5 separate regions of the Homo sapiens genome follow, and regions 1, 2, 3 and 4 are each linked to region 5. The links are contacts of gene promoters, found by promoter capture Hi-C in human tissues and cell types (Jung and others, 2019). All regions are on one chromosome and are shown on one strand. Each heading gives the region's core, a stretch centred on a gene start or on the middle of the fragment in contact. The rest is flanking DNA. Distances are from core to core; before and after follow the strand shown. Region 1 overlaps SLX9 (SLX9 ribosome biogenesis factor). Region 2 holds the start of DIP2A (disco interacting protein 2 homolog A). Region 3 holds the start of C21orf58 (chromosome 21 open reading frame 58). Region 4 holds the start of ITGB2 (integrin subunit beta 2). Region 5 holds the start of SLC19A1 (solute carrier family 19 member 1).

Region 1 (2,808 bases), core at 11-2,510, 590 kb before region 5:
GTTTTCTGCACTGAAGAGCCCCGGGCTGGATGAAGGGGACCATGGGACCTCACAGAGGGCTCAGACGGAGGGACAGGCCTCCACTTCCCCTGCCCTGGGATGTGAAGCACCAGCTTGGCAGGGTGGCAGGGCCCACAGACCCTCATGGGTGGGACCTGCAGACCCTTAGAGGAGTAGCCCCACAGGCGGAGGGGCTTGCCCTGGTCTGGGGGCCCCAGCCCCTTTTCTTCAGGCCTCCGAGGTATCCAGGCGCCTCAGTGGGGTCCTTTGCATCTTGGCTGCTCCTCACCATGTTCCTCCCTCTCTCCAGGAACAGTTCTGTTTTTTTGGTGTGGTCTCCTCAGCTCCTGATTGGCTGGTGCCCTGCGTCCCTACCCCCACCCCACCCCGGGTTTGTGCTGGGGCCTGAGTGCCCATGTCATGCAGATACTGCATCCTGTGACTTGGCCGCCACCCTTCAATGACCCGCCTGGCTATGGAGGTGAGGTGGCGGCCTGTGGGTGCCTGTCTGCCTGGCTTAGTGCAACACCGCCTTCCCAAGATGTGTCTCATCGTCCGTGCCCTGCCTGAGTCAGGAATAGCACTGCATGCTGCGTCTCTGGCCAAGGAGCTGGGTGGCCCAGGGGAGGGGTCTAGGCTGTGGCCCATCACCTGGTGGACACCCGTGTGCCCATCTGCACCCCTCCTCCCCCACTCTAGCCCTGGGAAGTGGTGGGGCTTGTTAGTCCCTGTGACTGACAAGTTCGTGGCATCGTTCCTATCCTGTGACTGACAAGTTCATGGCATCGTTCCTATCCTGTGACTGACAAGTTCATGGCATCGTTCCTATGTTTTTTTTCAAGCCCTTCGGATCCCAGCTCGCCAGGAAGCCACATCTGACCCCCTGTTCCCTTCCTGTGCCCTGGAGCCTGCCTTACCCTTACGGGCATCCTGGGAGGGACCCTCTGAGCTCTGCAGCCTCCTGCTACGGGAGGAGGAGGGCATGGGTGCAGGGCTGAGGCTGGCCTAGAGTCCCCTCCCCGCCCCAGCTCTCTAAGACCCCCTGCACCTCCCCAGCAGGACTCAGCTTTGCCTGTGGGCCGGGTTGTGCATGCAGGGGCTTTGCGGCAGCCTGTGGACCCCATGTCGGGGCTACAGCTCCTCCATGTCCGCTCTGGGGGTGGCGAGGGACCTGTGGCAGAGCCGGGGTGAGCACCCGTCTCCTGAGCCTCCCCCAACGCAGTGCCACCTGCTGTGCGTGCTGTGTGGCCAGCTCTAGCTGGCTTGTGCAATACCAGAGCCTGGCAGCCGGCCGGGTGTCCAGTGGTGGCTGATCCTCCAGCCTTGGGCACGGCTCCAATCCTTGGCATCGGACATCCGGGGAGCTGGTCATGCAGCATCGGGCGATCGGGCATCCGGGGAGGTGGTCGTGGAGCATCGGGCGGTCCGGGAATCTGGTCGTGGAGCATCGGGCGGTCCGGGGAGCTGGTCGTGAAGCATCGGGCGGTCCGGGGAGCTGGTCGTGGAGCATCGGGCGGTCCGGGGAGCTGGTCGTGGAGCATCGGGCGTCCGGGGAGCTGGTCGTGGAGCATCGGGCGTCCGGGGAGCTGGTCATGCAGCATCGGGCGGTCCGGGGAGCTGGTCGTGGAGCACCGGGCGTCTGGGGAGCTGGTCATGGAGCACGCTTAGAATTGGATTTCTAGTTCTGTGTTCCTTCATACCAGAAAACGAGCCCACCTGTTTTCAGACAGGCACTTGGGACTCAAGCTCAGAGACACAGGCAGGGTGGGGCAAGGCCTGGTATGGACTCAGAGCCGGGTGGGGCTGGGGGCCCCTGGAGCAGAGGATGTTGGGAGGCCTGTCACCATTGCTGGAGAGGGAGCTCACAGCATGGTGGACGGCTTGGGGGCGGTGGGGGCATGAGAGGCGCCGGTGGTGGTACAGGATTTTGGGGGTGTTGCTTTTCTGGCCAGATACCTGTGGCCGGTGGCACCTTTGCTTGAGTTTTGTCCAGGCCCACTGGGCTCATTTCACCTACTTGGCCTGGCAGGCTGAGCTCAGCTCATGCTACTGGCCTGGATCTCATGCCTCCAAGGGAGACTGGAGTCAGGCGTGGAGCGGTGAAGTGTGTGTGTGAGCAAGTGTGGGGTCCGGCCATTGCAGGCCAGCGCCAAGCCACCCTCAGCCCCCGCCTTGGCTTCCTCCCAGAGCTTGTTGATGCCCAAGGTCCAGAGGGGGCCAAGGTGGCAGGGCCTGAGTGTGTGCACACCCGGCCGGGCTCTGACAGCACCTGGGCTCAGCCCCAACCCCCCTTTGAGATTGGAGTGGGCGTTGGAAGCAGGGAGAGGCCAGGCAGCAGGAGCAGGCATCTCTGAGTCTGCAAGGGTAAGAGTGCAGAGAGGCCAGGGTCCCGAGCCCCGACTTGGCTGCTGCTTGCTCCCGCTCCTGCTGGCTCTGTGGAGCATGCAGCCCTGGCTCCCCCTCGCACGGTTTGTGGCCTTGCCCGGGGGCTGCTCCTGATCAGGGAGTGGATTGTGGGCCCTGGGCCCTGGGCCCGGCTGTCAGGAGTGTCGGGCCTGGCAGTCACACCGATGTGGGGTGGATCCTAGGGATGCAGCCCAGGCGGCCCTGCACCATAGCCTCCTCCAGAGGAACCCAGCACCCTCGGCCGGGTGGACACAGGGACCACACTGCTGTCCGGGTCCCCAAAGCGCGGCCCCAGCTCCGCCTACCCCCCAGAACCCTCTGTGCAGCAGCAGCAGGCCAGAGCGCACCATGGAGCCAGGCTCTGAAGCCACAGAGGCCTACTCTTAGACGCCGGGCACAGGG
Region 2 (2,857 bases), core at 157-2,656, 920 kb after region 5:
CCCAAAGTGCTGGGATTACAGGTGTGAGCCACTGTGCCCAGCCTCATCTTTTCTTAGCAGGGATCCAAACTTAGTGGAAGAGTATTGCCTTGTTTGGGTGTTTTGCTATTTTTGGAGTTCAGTCAAACAGGGATGTTAATTCCTGGGCCTGGTTCTTGTCTTTGACCTGCTGCAGTAAATGAAGCTTCTCTATATGTAACGGGACAGATTCACTGGCTTACAACTGTTTGTTGCTTGCCTTCAGCTGACCACTATTCTTAAGAGTCTCGGTTGGCACTAAGCAATAGCTATCCAATCCCCCTTTCCTTCCTTTTATCTACTACGTTCACCATATATGAAATGTCTGATACTTCACCCACTCGTGGATTCCATTTCACTAGTTCACCCTCCTACTTCACCACTGGTGAGTGATGCAGCCTCGAATCCCATCTTCTCACCAGCTTTAATGCTGCAGAATGGTTTCTCCAGAAGCAGACGCTGCGACTGAGTTTGGGGTACGAGGATGTTGACATGGTATCAACACCCGTGAAAGGAAGGGGAAGGAAGCAGGACTGGGCGGAGGAAGAAGGGTATGTAAGTCCCGCAAAGCTTTGGCCAACCTCGTGTGGAGCTCTGGAACGAGAACTGCTGAAGTTCGCCAGACTCGGGCACTCCTGCCTAACTCAGTAACAGGCGGGCGGCATCGGGACACGGACACGCTGCTCAGGCCCCGCCACAGCCACCCTCGCACCGTCAGACACACTCCCACACATTCGGGGAGCAGGGCCTTCAGGACGCCGGCGGCGCCCTCTCAGTCTAGCTCCGCCAGGCCCCTCGTCCGTCCTCCCGCCCTCCAAGGTCACCTCGCGGTCCGACATGGCTGCTGGGGCTCCTTCGGGGCCAACGATGTGTACTTCTAGGGCTGTTTTTTAAAGCAAAGGAGTGAACACAGGTAAAGGCACGAGAAAGGTGCCTCGACGCCACCACGGACTGCGCAGCGTTCGCGATCAGCACAGCCCGAAAGGGAAGACAGCGGTCAACGCGGACGCGCCATGGCGCGGGGACCAAGGAGGAGCCCCGAGAGGGGCGGGGCTGGCCGGAGGGCCGCGCGCGGGGCCACCAGCGGCGCCTAGGGGTCAGCGCCAACGCCCACGGGTTGGTCATCCCCACTTAGGCGCCTCGGGCCGCAACTAAGCAGCCTGCCCGCCTCAAGCCCGCCACCCTCAAGCAGGCCCAGCGCAGAGCCTGTCGGGAGCGGCGCTCTCCCGCCTCTCCCAATGGGAGCCCGGAGCGGCATCGACGCGTCTTCGGGGCCAATGGAAGCGAGGCTCTGGTGTTGCTGGGCGGGGCCGGGAGGGCTGCGCGGGCCCGAGACCCACTGCGCACGCGCGCTCGCTACCCGCCCTTCCCGCCGCGCACGCGCTCCCGTGTAGGGCCGGCCGGGCGCTCAGGAGCGCGCGGGGCAGCGGCGGCGCGGCGGAGCCATCCGCGCTCGTGCCCGCGCGGGTGCGTTGCTGTCCTGGCCGCGCCCCTGTCCCGCCGCCTCCCGCTCCTCGCCTGGCGGATGTAGGTTGTTGGCCTGAGGGGAGCTACGTAGCCGAGGTTTGCGCTGCCGCCGCCAGGCCCGGTCCGGTTCCAGCCTCTGCCCGGACGCTAGCCGGCCTGGCCATGGCTGACCGCGGGTGCCCGCTGGAGGCGGCGCCGCTGCCTGCCGAGGTGCGGGAGAGCCTGGCTGAGCTGGAGCTGGAGCTGTCGGAAGGTGAGCCGGACCCCGCCCTCAACCCCCGCGACCCGCCCTCAGCCCGGTCCCCCGCGCAGCCCCTCACTCCGGGACCCCCGCGCGGCCCCTCACTCCAGGACCCCCGCCCTTCACCCCCGGGACCCCCACGCGGCCTCGCCCCTGGGACCTCTGCCCCTCAACGGGACCCCGGTTCCTCTACCCTGGAACCCGCCCCTCGCCCCGGAGACACCGTTCCTCAACCCTAGGACCCCGCCCCTCATGTGGGACCCCAGCACGACCCCTCGCCCCGAGACCCCGGCCCCTTACCCCCGGGAACTCCCGCCCCTCACCCCCGGGACCTCCTGCCCCTCACCCCCGGAACCCCGCGCGGCCCCTCACCCCGGGGACCCCGCCCTTCACCCTGGGAGCCCCGCGCTGCCCCTCCGGACTCCCGACCCTCAGCCCCGGGACACCCGCGCGGCCCCTCAAACCAGGGACCACTGCCCCGCCTCTCATACAAGGACCCCTCCCCCATACAAGGACTCCTCCCCCCAGGCCCTTCACACCTGGGACCCTTACTCCTCACCCCGGGACGCCTGCCAAACTTCTGGAGACCTTTCCCTATCCCCAGCTGCTCCCCCAATGGGATCCGACCCCAAGGACTGGCTTTGACTAGGTCGTTTGGACAGGTGTGAGAATCTTGAGAGGAATGACCACTTTTGCCCCAAGCTGTGAGCCCCGCTTTTCTCAAGGCTGTAGGTCTGGGCTTGGTCTGGGCTTCACCAGGATGACTGCGCCCGTTGTCCGCAGGCAGCTACTTCCCTTGGAGCTGGGAGCCCTTGCCGCGCGCCTCATACTCTAGGAGCTGCACCCTGTGCCTCATTTTATTATCTATAAAGTGGGGTTATACCAGCACTTTCCATTTTGGATTGTTATGAGGCTAAAATACCTTAATATATGCAAAGCACATAACACTTAGGAGTTGTTAGCCCCCTCATGGAATTTTTTAAAGTAAAAAAAAAAAGTCGTATAAATGGTTGGTTGATAAAAATAGACTGGAGTAATCTGGCTTCAGAGGTGGTGGGTGGCATTTCCCATTTGGATGTTATCCCTTTCAAGGCCTGTGTCCTGATATTCCTTTTGGCTGTCTTTGGGAAA
Region 3 (2,830 bases), core at 85-2,584, 780 kb after region 5:
TTGCCTGCCTGGCCCCTGCTCTAATGAGCCCACTGCCCAGAGTTTGCTCAAACCACCCAATTCCGAGTCTGGGAACCAGGAGACCGCTGGACACCCCGCTCACCACACAGAAGACTGTGGCCTGAGTCAGGAGAAGGAAGTTTCTGGCGGTCGAGCTTCCACGGCTTCCTGAGGGAGGTTGCAGGGAGCCGAGATCGCGCCATTGCGCTATAGCCTGGGCGTCGCAGCGAGACTGTCTCAAAAAAAGAAAAAAAATTCTGAGCGAGATTCCAGGGCTTCCTGAGGGCGCGTTTAAGTTGCAGTTGCTGAGGAGGCTGCAAGGTGAGCTTGCGTCAGCGAGGAGCCACTCCAGCACGCTCGGGAAGGGCATCGTTACTGCTGCAAACAAGCACACGGCCCTCCACGACGAACCTTTTGCAAGTGAAGGCGCACGAACAGGCCCGGAGGACTACAAAGAAACCCAGAAACCAGACTTGGACACATGAAATAAAGGGGTTAGCTGAAGGAATACTCCACAGTTAAGGACGGCCTGCGCGAGGTCACCGGCCCTGTCTTGGTTTTTTGCCACTTCGCTCCAGTTAGTTTCCCAAGTTCCACCTACGCGCGCGCCAGCTGAGAAAACGCCCACCCCGGCGGTCCCGCCACAGGTCACAGGCGGTGCGGACCCCGGGACTGTGTCCGGGCTTCGGTGTCCAGAGAGCTCCAAGACACCCAAACCTTCCGTGGTTTCCACCTCTGCAAGCTTATGTTCCGCTGAGCTCAAGCTGAGGGACGACGACCTCATGCGACGTCAGTTTCCCCCTGGGACCACGAACCCACGGCCCCATTTCTCTTCTGTCTACTAAAAACCTTTTCTTTTCTTTTTTTTTTGAGACCTAAGACATCAGTGAGACACACGAGCAGACACGGGCTCGGTCGGGAAAGGCGGGAGCTCCAAGCGGCGGGGCCTGCAGGTCCAGGCGGTTCGCGGGCTTTCTGACCGCATTCGGCCGAGTTCTTCTCTGAAGACCCAGGACCCCCGGCCGAGGGGGCGCATTCGGCGGGCTGGTGGCGTAGGATTTTGTTTCGGGTTCCCAGGGTCCCGGCAAGGGTGAGGGAGCCCTTGCGGATCCCCTGAGATCCACCTCAGCAGCCTCCTCCGTGGTAGGCCTCAACTTCCCGCGGCGGCCCACAGCCAACGACTAATGCCTGAGCGGGAGAAAACGGCCTGGCCCTGTCCGGGTGGTTGCTGAGCACCGTTCGGCGCCGCCCGCGCCTGCAGGGAGCCCGGCCCGCTGTCCTGGTGGACACAAAGCCCAGGGGCCGCCCGCGCGGGACCAGCAGCGCGAACTTTTTGCCGCTCGGCCAGCCTGGCAGGGGATTTTAAAATCGGCCAATCACAGCGGGCGCCAGGCCTCCGCTTTCCGCTTACTGGTCCTGCCGTAGGAGGCGGGTACGTGAGCGCACCAATCTGTGGCCGGCGAGCGTAAAGGGCGGGGCTCCGCCCAGGCTGCACCGCCCAGAGCGCGCGTGCGCGAGACCGGAAACGCAGCCCCCTGATTGGCGGCGCGTGTCGGGGGCGGGGCCGCGGCTGCGTGACAGTTGTCGCGGGGGGAGGGCGAGCCCAAGCGCGGGGGAGGGAGTGTAAATAGAGCGAAGGCTGCTCTGTGTCAGCCCCGTCACCGCCGGGCGGCCCGCGCGGAGTCTGAGGGAGATGGAAGTTGAGCAAGAGCAGCGGCGCAGAAAGGTGGAGGCCGGGAGGACGAAGGTAAACATTAGGGGCTTCTTCTCTAGCTGCTCTGGCGTGAAGTCCTAAGGGCGGCTCCGGTGCCCGCCACCGCCCCCTGCCAGGAGAGGACGCGGTCCGGCGGAAGCCGCCGCGGAGGTCTCGCTTTTTCCCGCCGGCTCCGCTGGAAGCCGCCTCCTGGCCGCCGCCATCTTGAATCCGCCGCTCTCCGCCAGGTCCCGCCCCCGCCGCGGCCACAGCCAATCAGCGGCCGGGACGCGCGGCGCCTCTCGGGCGGGCCGGGGCGGGGCTGCGCCTGCGTCGGGGGGGGTGGGGCGCGGGCTGGGCGCGGTGCACGCCGGGGCGGGGTGTGGCTGCAGGGCGGGGCTACAGGGGCGTGGCGTGGCTGCACGGAGGGGGTGGGGCGCGGCAGGCGCTGGACCCCAGGCTGGATCTTCCAGTGGCTCCCGCGTCCTCCGGGACCGGGTGGCCTGGGGCGGGCGGCCGGTATTCGGGTGGCTGCTTGGTCTAGGGCCAGTTTCCTGCGCGGCCGGGGCCGGGGGCGTGGCGCGGGTGGCCTGCAGCGCCTCCCCAGGGTGCGCCTTCGCCTCGTCCGTCGGAGATGCTTTCCCCGCGCGTTTCTCGCGGCGTTGCAGTCCTTACTGTGTGAAAGGCCCCCGCGGCGCTCCCGGCCGCCGTCTTCTTCCCGCGCCCTTGGGCTCGCGTCCTGCCCGTCCGGGCCTGGCGTACGCTGCCGGGAACCCACGCGGCGCTGGCGCCGGGCGCCTTCAAGGGACGCGCTCCCGTCTTTCTCCCGCCCCGGGTTTCTCCGTGAAAAAGCGCTCGGTTTGATGGCCACTGTCCTAGGTTTCGTGGGAATAAAGCGCGCAGAGCCCATGACTCGGGGGCAGGAGAAAGGGAGTCCCGAAAGCGCGAGGCGGAACCGCGGGAGCAGGCCGGCCTCTGCGAGGTGCGCGCCGCTCCCCCCCAGGATGTTCTGGCTGGGGTGCTGGGGAAGAGCGGGGCTCCCGGGCACGGCGGACAGGGGACGCGGGGCTAGGCCGGGGAAGGGCTGAGGCGGGCAGGAGGGGAAGGGGAGCCCGGAGCCTGCAGGGAGCTGCGAAC
Region 4 (2,777 bases), core at 87-2,586, 620 kb before region 5:
TTTCTGTGAAGCCTCCAGAATCCGGCCTCAGCCCCCAAACCCGCAGGCGTTGCGCCACCGTCACGGGGAAGGCGAGTGACAGCGAGTGTCCCCTATGCCCCCACAGCTCGCTCCCAGGCTGAGCTCTCCGGCCATCCCCCCCCTTCCCCATTGCAGCCATGCCACCCCTCCTTCTCCCCACCCAGGAACTGACAGAGGAGAGGGGCCCCGGATGGACAGGGACAGCAGGGCAGAATCCCAGCTCCCAGATCCAGGGGAGGGGGGATTGGGTGTGGGGACGGTGGTGCAAGGGGTGGTGCCAGGGGTGGAGGATGCATGGGGAGGGCTGGCCCCAAGAGTGCAGTGTTGGGGGAAGGGGGCCAGGTGGGCCTGGGACCCAGGGGCGTGGCTTCAATCCCCCTCCCACCAGGACCTTGGGAATGGCCTCCAGGAGCCTGTTGTGGGGAGGCCAGGGTCACCAGCTGAACCAACTCGACCAGAATCGCACAGCGGTGCCCGCTCCCCTACAGCAAGACGTCACCCAGGGGTCCCCACGGAGGAGGCAGGGAAGCTCGAGGGTCCCAGAGGAGCATGGAGCATGTGCCACACCACACCACACTACATTACACATGTGCACCATACATGTACATACAACAGACTCCCCACATCACATGCGCACACTCGCACACCATACATGCACACACACACACCACACTACGCTATGCCACACACGTGCACCATACATGCACACCATGCCACACTACACACACGACACTACACACCACGAACCACACCACACCATATCACACACCACACACTGCGAGTCGATCTGGAGATGGAATCGCTGTAGCCAGGCGGGGCAGCATGCAGACAGGAGGGCCTAACACAGGCAGGCGCAGCAGGTTCACAGAGGAGGCCCCGGGAACCTGCCTCCTGCCCAGCCCGGAGCACCAGGACCCCCCAGCCGTCCCCCTAGGGGCTTGTGGGCCCAGCCTCTTCCTGGCCTTGCCGGCCTCACAGCCCCTTGTCCTCCCATGCCGGCCCCATCCTCAGCCGCAAGCGCTCCCAGCACACCATGTGGCTCTGCTCTTGGTGGCAGGCACTTCCCCTTGCCGGGTCTCAAAGGGGACCCTGGAGCAGACGGTCTGGAGACCCCTTCCTGCCAGACACCCCTGGGCCGGGGCTATAAGCAGGGCCACCAGGGTCACTCCAGGCTGGGGCAGGAGAGTGCTTCCCTCCAAAAATCACCGTGGACATAGCGGGGCCTCTGCACACTCACCCTCGGTGTGCTGGAGTCCTCGGCGGTGCTCCTGGCTGGGCGTGGGGGCTTTGCTACCAGTCTGCCCTGGGTCACGTCTAGAAACCTCAGCTGGAGGCGCGGGTCGTAAAGTCCTGACACTTCCTGTTCCTCTCAGCTCCTCCTTGGAGGAAGTGGTGGGTTGCACCACCGTGGCCCTTCACCCCTGCCCCTCTCCGCTCTACAGCAGCTCTGATGTCAGAGAGCGGCCCCTTGAGACAGGTGGGACATGTCATTTCTCACATGAGGTCCCGGCGAGAAGGACCTGCTTCCATCAGATTCACACTTGGGAGAGGGGCCCGGCCTCCAGGAGCGCCAGGCAGAAAGGGCACCCATTAGGAAGAAGAACACAGAGGCCATGGGAGTGAAAAGTTTGATGCTGGAAAGCAACAGTAGCACATTCTGCTACAGAGCGGAATGAAAAACCCTGGGGAGCAAATTCCTGAGCCAGAGAATGGAGCGGAGGAACCAGCCAAGGAGGATAAAGAGGTGGGAACAGGCAAGAAAACCTGGGTGCGTGCACGCATTGACATCCACCTGCATGTGAGGGCGGGAGGGGACAGAACAGGGACAGCGAGGAGGAGACACTCAGGTCACAGGAGGAAGGCTGCGGATCTGGGCGGGGACGTGGATTGCGAGGCCACTGAACACCCCAGGGATGGATGGATGAGGTCCTGTTAACTAGGGACATTAGGAGGATACCACAGAACACGAAAGGGAAAATACTACAGGCTCAGAGAGAGAGAGAAGGGAGAGGAGGAGGAGGAGGAAGAGGAGGGAAAGAGATTATACCTAGAAAAAAAACCCAAATCAGACATCTTCAGAGCAAGGACTCAGACACATTACTACCCTAAACTCTGTTTTATTTATTTATTTATTTTTATGTTTTCAGTTTTTTTTGAGACAGAGTTTTGCTTTTGTCACCCAGGCTGGAGTGCAGTGGCGTGATCTCAGCTCACTGCAACCTCTGCCTCCCGGGTTCAAGCAATTCTCCTGCCTCAGCCTCCCAAGTAGCTGGGATTACAGGCACATGTACCACCACGCCTGGGTAATTTTTGTATTCTTAGTAGAGACAGGGTTTCACTATGTTGACCAGGCTGGTCTTGAACTCCTGGCTTCAAGTGATCCATCCACCTCTGCCTTCCAAAGTGCTGGGATTACTGGCGTGAGCCATGGCTCCCGGCTCCTAAACTCTGTTTTAAAGATGTCTTGCAGAAATAGACATGAAGAAATCCATGAGAAATACAAGAGCAGATGATACAAAGTTGGGCAAAGAAATAAGTAAAAATTATGATGTCATAACCTGTTGATTTAAAAAATAGTGGTAAGAATATTAACGCTGTGAAACAAAACGCCTAGAGGACTGGGTTGGGAGGGGCCAGGGAGCACATTGCCGTTCCATCCTATCTGGGGAGGAATATAGATGCTTGTCAGTGGGCATTTTGATAGAAAATATCTAAGTATATATGCTAACAATTCAAGAGTCTCCTTAAGAATAAAA
Region 5 (2,700 bases), core at 142-2,641:
ACCCTCCCACCCCTGTTCAGATGACCAAGTTCAGGGTTCCTAACAGCATAATTAGACCCTCCGGCTATCACTGCTGCAGGCCCAAACACCCGAGAAGCACTCTTTCTCATCTGTGTCCAGCAGAGATAACTGTACTATCTGGAATTATAAAAATCCACCAAAGCCCCTTCGGAAAGAAAGCAATTAGCAATTGCAACAAGCAGTGCACAGGTGGCACCCAGGCAAAGGCGGCCAGTGAGATGCAGCCTGGCTCCCAGGCCTGGACAGGGCAGGCAGGTGCACTGGGCCAGAGGCACCTCGGCTCTGCTGATTGAATCTGGGCTGTGCGGGGATCCTCGGGTCTCCGTAGGGGGAGGCCACCTCTTTACAGGGCGGCCAACAGGCGCCTCCAAGGACTTTATCCCACCTTCCCTCTGGATGCATTCTGGATTTCGGGGCCAGCTTAGTTGGCCTGTGTCCTGAGGCCAGGCAGGCCAGACTCCCCAGGACAGGAGTTTCCGATGGACAGGACCCTAGGGGGATGGCTTTCCTGCTGTAGCGGTGTTGGAAGGACCCACTCGGGAAAGGCTCCAGCGGCTGTCCAGGCTCTCTCTGAGACGCCTCGGGATTGCTCCGCTGGATCCGCACCCACAGCTGCTCCAAGGGGAAGTTGCACCTACAAAGCTTCTGGCACAGGAGACAATGGTCTGGAGATGTGCCAGGGGCCCGCCCCACGCGTGGCTGGCAGGGTTCACCCACCGGCTGGCCCGTCCCGAAGCAACACGTGCCTGGGCGCGAACGCCGGATCCACGCTTTCCTCCAGACCCGGGGGTGGGACTTGGCGCCCCAGGATGACGCGGAGGGCAGGCTGGGGGCCGGGACTCCCCACCCCATTCGCAGGCTGCGGCGGAAAGCGAGCGGCGGGAAACCCGCTGCACAGCAACGGTTCTGCCAGGCGCCCGGGCCACCGCGACCCCCGCGGAGACCCCGGCCCACGCCCCGCACCCTCCCCAGGGCCCCCCAGACCCCAGGCTGCAGACCGCAGACCCCGGCCACGCCCCGCACCCTCCCCAGGGCCCCCCAGACCCCAGGCTGCAGACCGCAGACCCCGGCCCACGCCCCGCACCCTCCCCAGGGCCCCGCGGACCCCAGGCTGCAGACCGCAGACCCCGGCCCACGCCCCGCACCCTCCCCAGGGCCCCGCGGACCCCAGCGCCAGCCCCCACACTCACCTCACAGGGCCCTGCAAACCTCGGCCCGCGCCCCGCACTCACCCCAGGGCCCCGAGACACCCCGCAGCCCCCGACACGCGGCCCCGTGGCCCCGTTCCCCACCGGTACCTGCGACTCGGCGGGGCGGCTGCCCTGGGGCTCCCGGACCCGGCCCCGCGCACGCGGACTCCGGGACTACAGCGCCCACAAGGCGGCGCGGCGGGCGCGCGGCTGCGGGGTGGGCGGGTCCGTCCCGCCGAACGCGTCCTGAGGGCGGGGCCTCGCGCGTGGCCGGGCGCTGCGGCAGGAGCGTCCCCACGGGGCACCCTCCCACCCACGGCCGTCTCCCAGCCCCGGCGCCGGCCTCTCCCCACCCGGTCACCGCCGGGGTCACGCGGCCCCTCGTGCTGCGGCCCTACCCCTGGGGCCGCCCCCTGACCCCGACCGCCCCTCGGGCCCCCACCCCCGCCGGCGTCAGCATCCTGGGGTGCCACTCGCGGAGGTGTCGGTCCCTCGGGCGGGCACCCTGCCATCCCTCTCCCCCGCGTTCTTCCCACCCCCGGTCCCCTCCTGACCCCCCCTCCTCGACGAGGCCTTGTGCGTTTTCCTTTTGGCACCCTGGAACACCTGCATTCCTGGCCGCAAGCTGGATCCGGGACGCGGGTCGGGCCCACGCGCCCTCAGGGGTGGCCCTGGGCCGCCTTCGTGGGGCTCCAACAGGGACACGCACAGCCTGCTCTTGGGGACCGCACGGCCCCGAACTCGGCGCCCCCGGGACCCCGCCGCCCGCCCTCCTGCCTGACCGTGACCCGTACGGGCTTGTACCAAGGAGCAAGCCGGATCCAGGACGTGGCCCGGGGCCACCAGTCCCCATCCCAGCAGGGACAGCCCGGGGGAGACCCGCGCAGGCCTCGCAGACGGCAGCGCAGTCACACTCAGGAAGGGGGGCCTGGGCCACTCTCCCAGGAAGGCGTGGGGCTGCGGCAGACAGCACCGCCGAAAGCCCAAGGCCTGTGCAGGACACGGGGAGAAGTGGGGGGCCTCAGGGTCACTTTCCCCTGGAGTTACCCAGGGCCTGGCTATGGGGAGGGAAGCCAAGCCGAGGGCTGTGGGGGCCCCAAGGCTAAGGAGGAGCCAGGAAGTCCACTGCACAGAACAGAAGGGGACGGCCACCGTGGTACCCACAGCTCAAGAGTGCGGGTCCCAGGCGAGGGGTGAGTCTGGGGCAGCAGCCCCTGGAATGTACCCCTTCCGGAGTGTAGACAGCACAATCCGCGACCTGCCTCCTGGTGTTGCGGGGGTGCTCTTGGTCTCCCGCCCACCAGCAGGGCAACCCCACCAGGAAGCCAACACAGGGCCCTTGCCCTAAATGGCCGCCTGCCCAAAGCTCTGGCCTGGGCCTTCTTTCCAGAGTCCTGAGTGTAGCAAGCCACACGAACAAATCTCAAAGGAACTTAAAAAGGATTTGTTGGCTGGAAATGGGGGATCTGGGGTAGCTTGCAGAATTTAA

The links. The method cuts DNA at HindIII sites, captures the fragments that hold promoters and counts their contacts. A contact is called where the count stands out against the background at its distance.
Region 1: a contact is called between a fragment that was not itself captured here and the fragment with the promoter of SLC19A1 in region 5, in 1 of the 25 tissues and cell types used here (lymphoblastoid cells).
Region 2: the fragment with the promoter of DIP2A here is called in contact with the fragment with the promoter of SLC19A1 in region 5 in 1 of the 25 tissues and cell types used here (mesendoderm cells).
Region 3: the fragment with the promoter of C21orf58 here is called in contact with the fragment with the promoter of SLC19A1 in region 5 in 1 of the 25 tissues and cell types used here (stomach).
Region 4: the fragment with the promoter of ITGB2 here is called in contact with the fragment with the promoter of SLC19A1 in region 5 in 2 of the 25 tissues and cell types used here (lymphoblastoid cells and spleen).

Annotation. Positions count from the first base shown.
Region 1 is chr21:44,946,788-44,949,595 of GRCh38, forward strand. All of the region lies in intron 2 of SLX9 (SLX9 ribosome biogenesis factor), which reads left to right. Among named protein-coding and RNA genes, the nearest start is that of SLX9, 8.2 kb to the left of the region's middle. RefSeq lists enhancers at 2,621-2,808, 2,747-2,808. The HindIII fragment of the contact is 5,432 bases long and covers 1-2,808 here.
Region 2 is chr21:46,457,485-46,460,341 of GRCh38, forward strand. DIP2A (disco interacting protein 2 homolog A) reads left to right here and starts at 1,407. Exons shown (of 38, transcript NM_015151.4): 1 at 1,407-1,738. The coding sequence starts at 1,648. It overlaps LOC124905046 (a long non-coding RNA gene), which reads right to left and starts at 1,229. Exons shown (of 2, transcript XR_007067915.1): 1 at 843-1,229. RefSeq lists enhancers at 621-760, 2,531-2,600 and silencers at 1,001-1,550, 1,741-1,810. The HindIII fragment of the contact is 5,308 bases long and covers 387-2,857 here.
Region 3 is chr21:46,322,536-46,325,365 of GRCh38, forward strand. It overlaps C21orf58 (chromosome 21 open reading frame 58), which reads right to left and starts at 1,335. Exons shown (of 8, transcript NM_058180.5): 1 at 104-1,335. The coding sequence starts at 203. PCNT (pericentrin) reads left to right here and starts at 1,621. Exons shown (of 47, transcript NM_006031.6): 1 at 1,621-1,747. The coding sequence starts at 1,694. RefSeq lists an enhancer at 864-1,003 and silencers at 1,354-1,683, 1,954-2,413. The HindIII fragment of the contact is 24,092 bases long and covers 1-2,830 here.
Region 4 is chr21:44,919,563-44,922,339 of GRCh38, forward strand. It overlaps ITGB2 (integrin subunit beta 2), which reads right to left and starts at 1,337. Exons shown (of 16, transcript NM_000211.5): 1 at 1,259-1,337. It overlaps ITGB2-AS1 (ITGB2 antisense RNA 1), which reads left to right and starts at 1,473. Exons shown (of 3, transcript NR_038316.1): 1 at 1,473-1,765. The HindIII fragment of the contact is 46,650 bases long and covers 1-2,777 here.
Region 5 is chr21:45,541,049-45,543,748 of GRCh38, forward strand. It overlaps SLC19A1 (solute carrier family 19 member 1), which reads right to left and starts at 1,392. Exons shown (of 6, transcript NM_194255.4): 1 at 1,320-1,392. RefSeq lists silencers at 826-885, 1,236-1,545, 1,586-1,665 and an enhancer at 1,520-2,032. The HindIII fragment of the contact is 13,138 bases long and covers 1-2,700 here.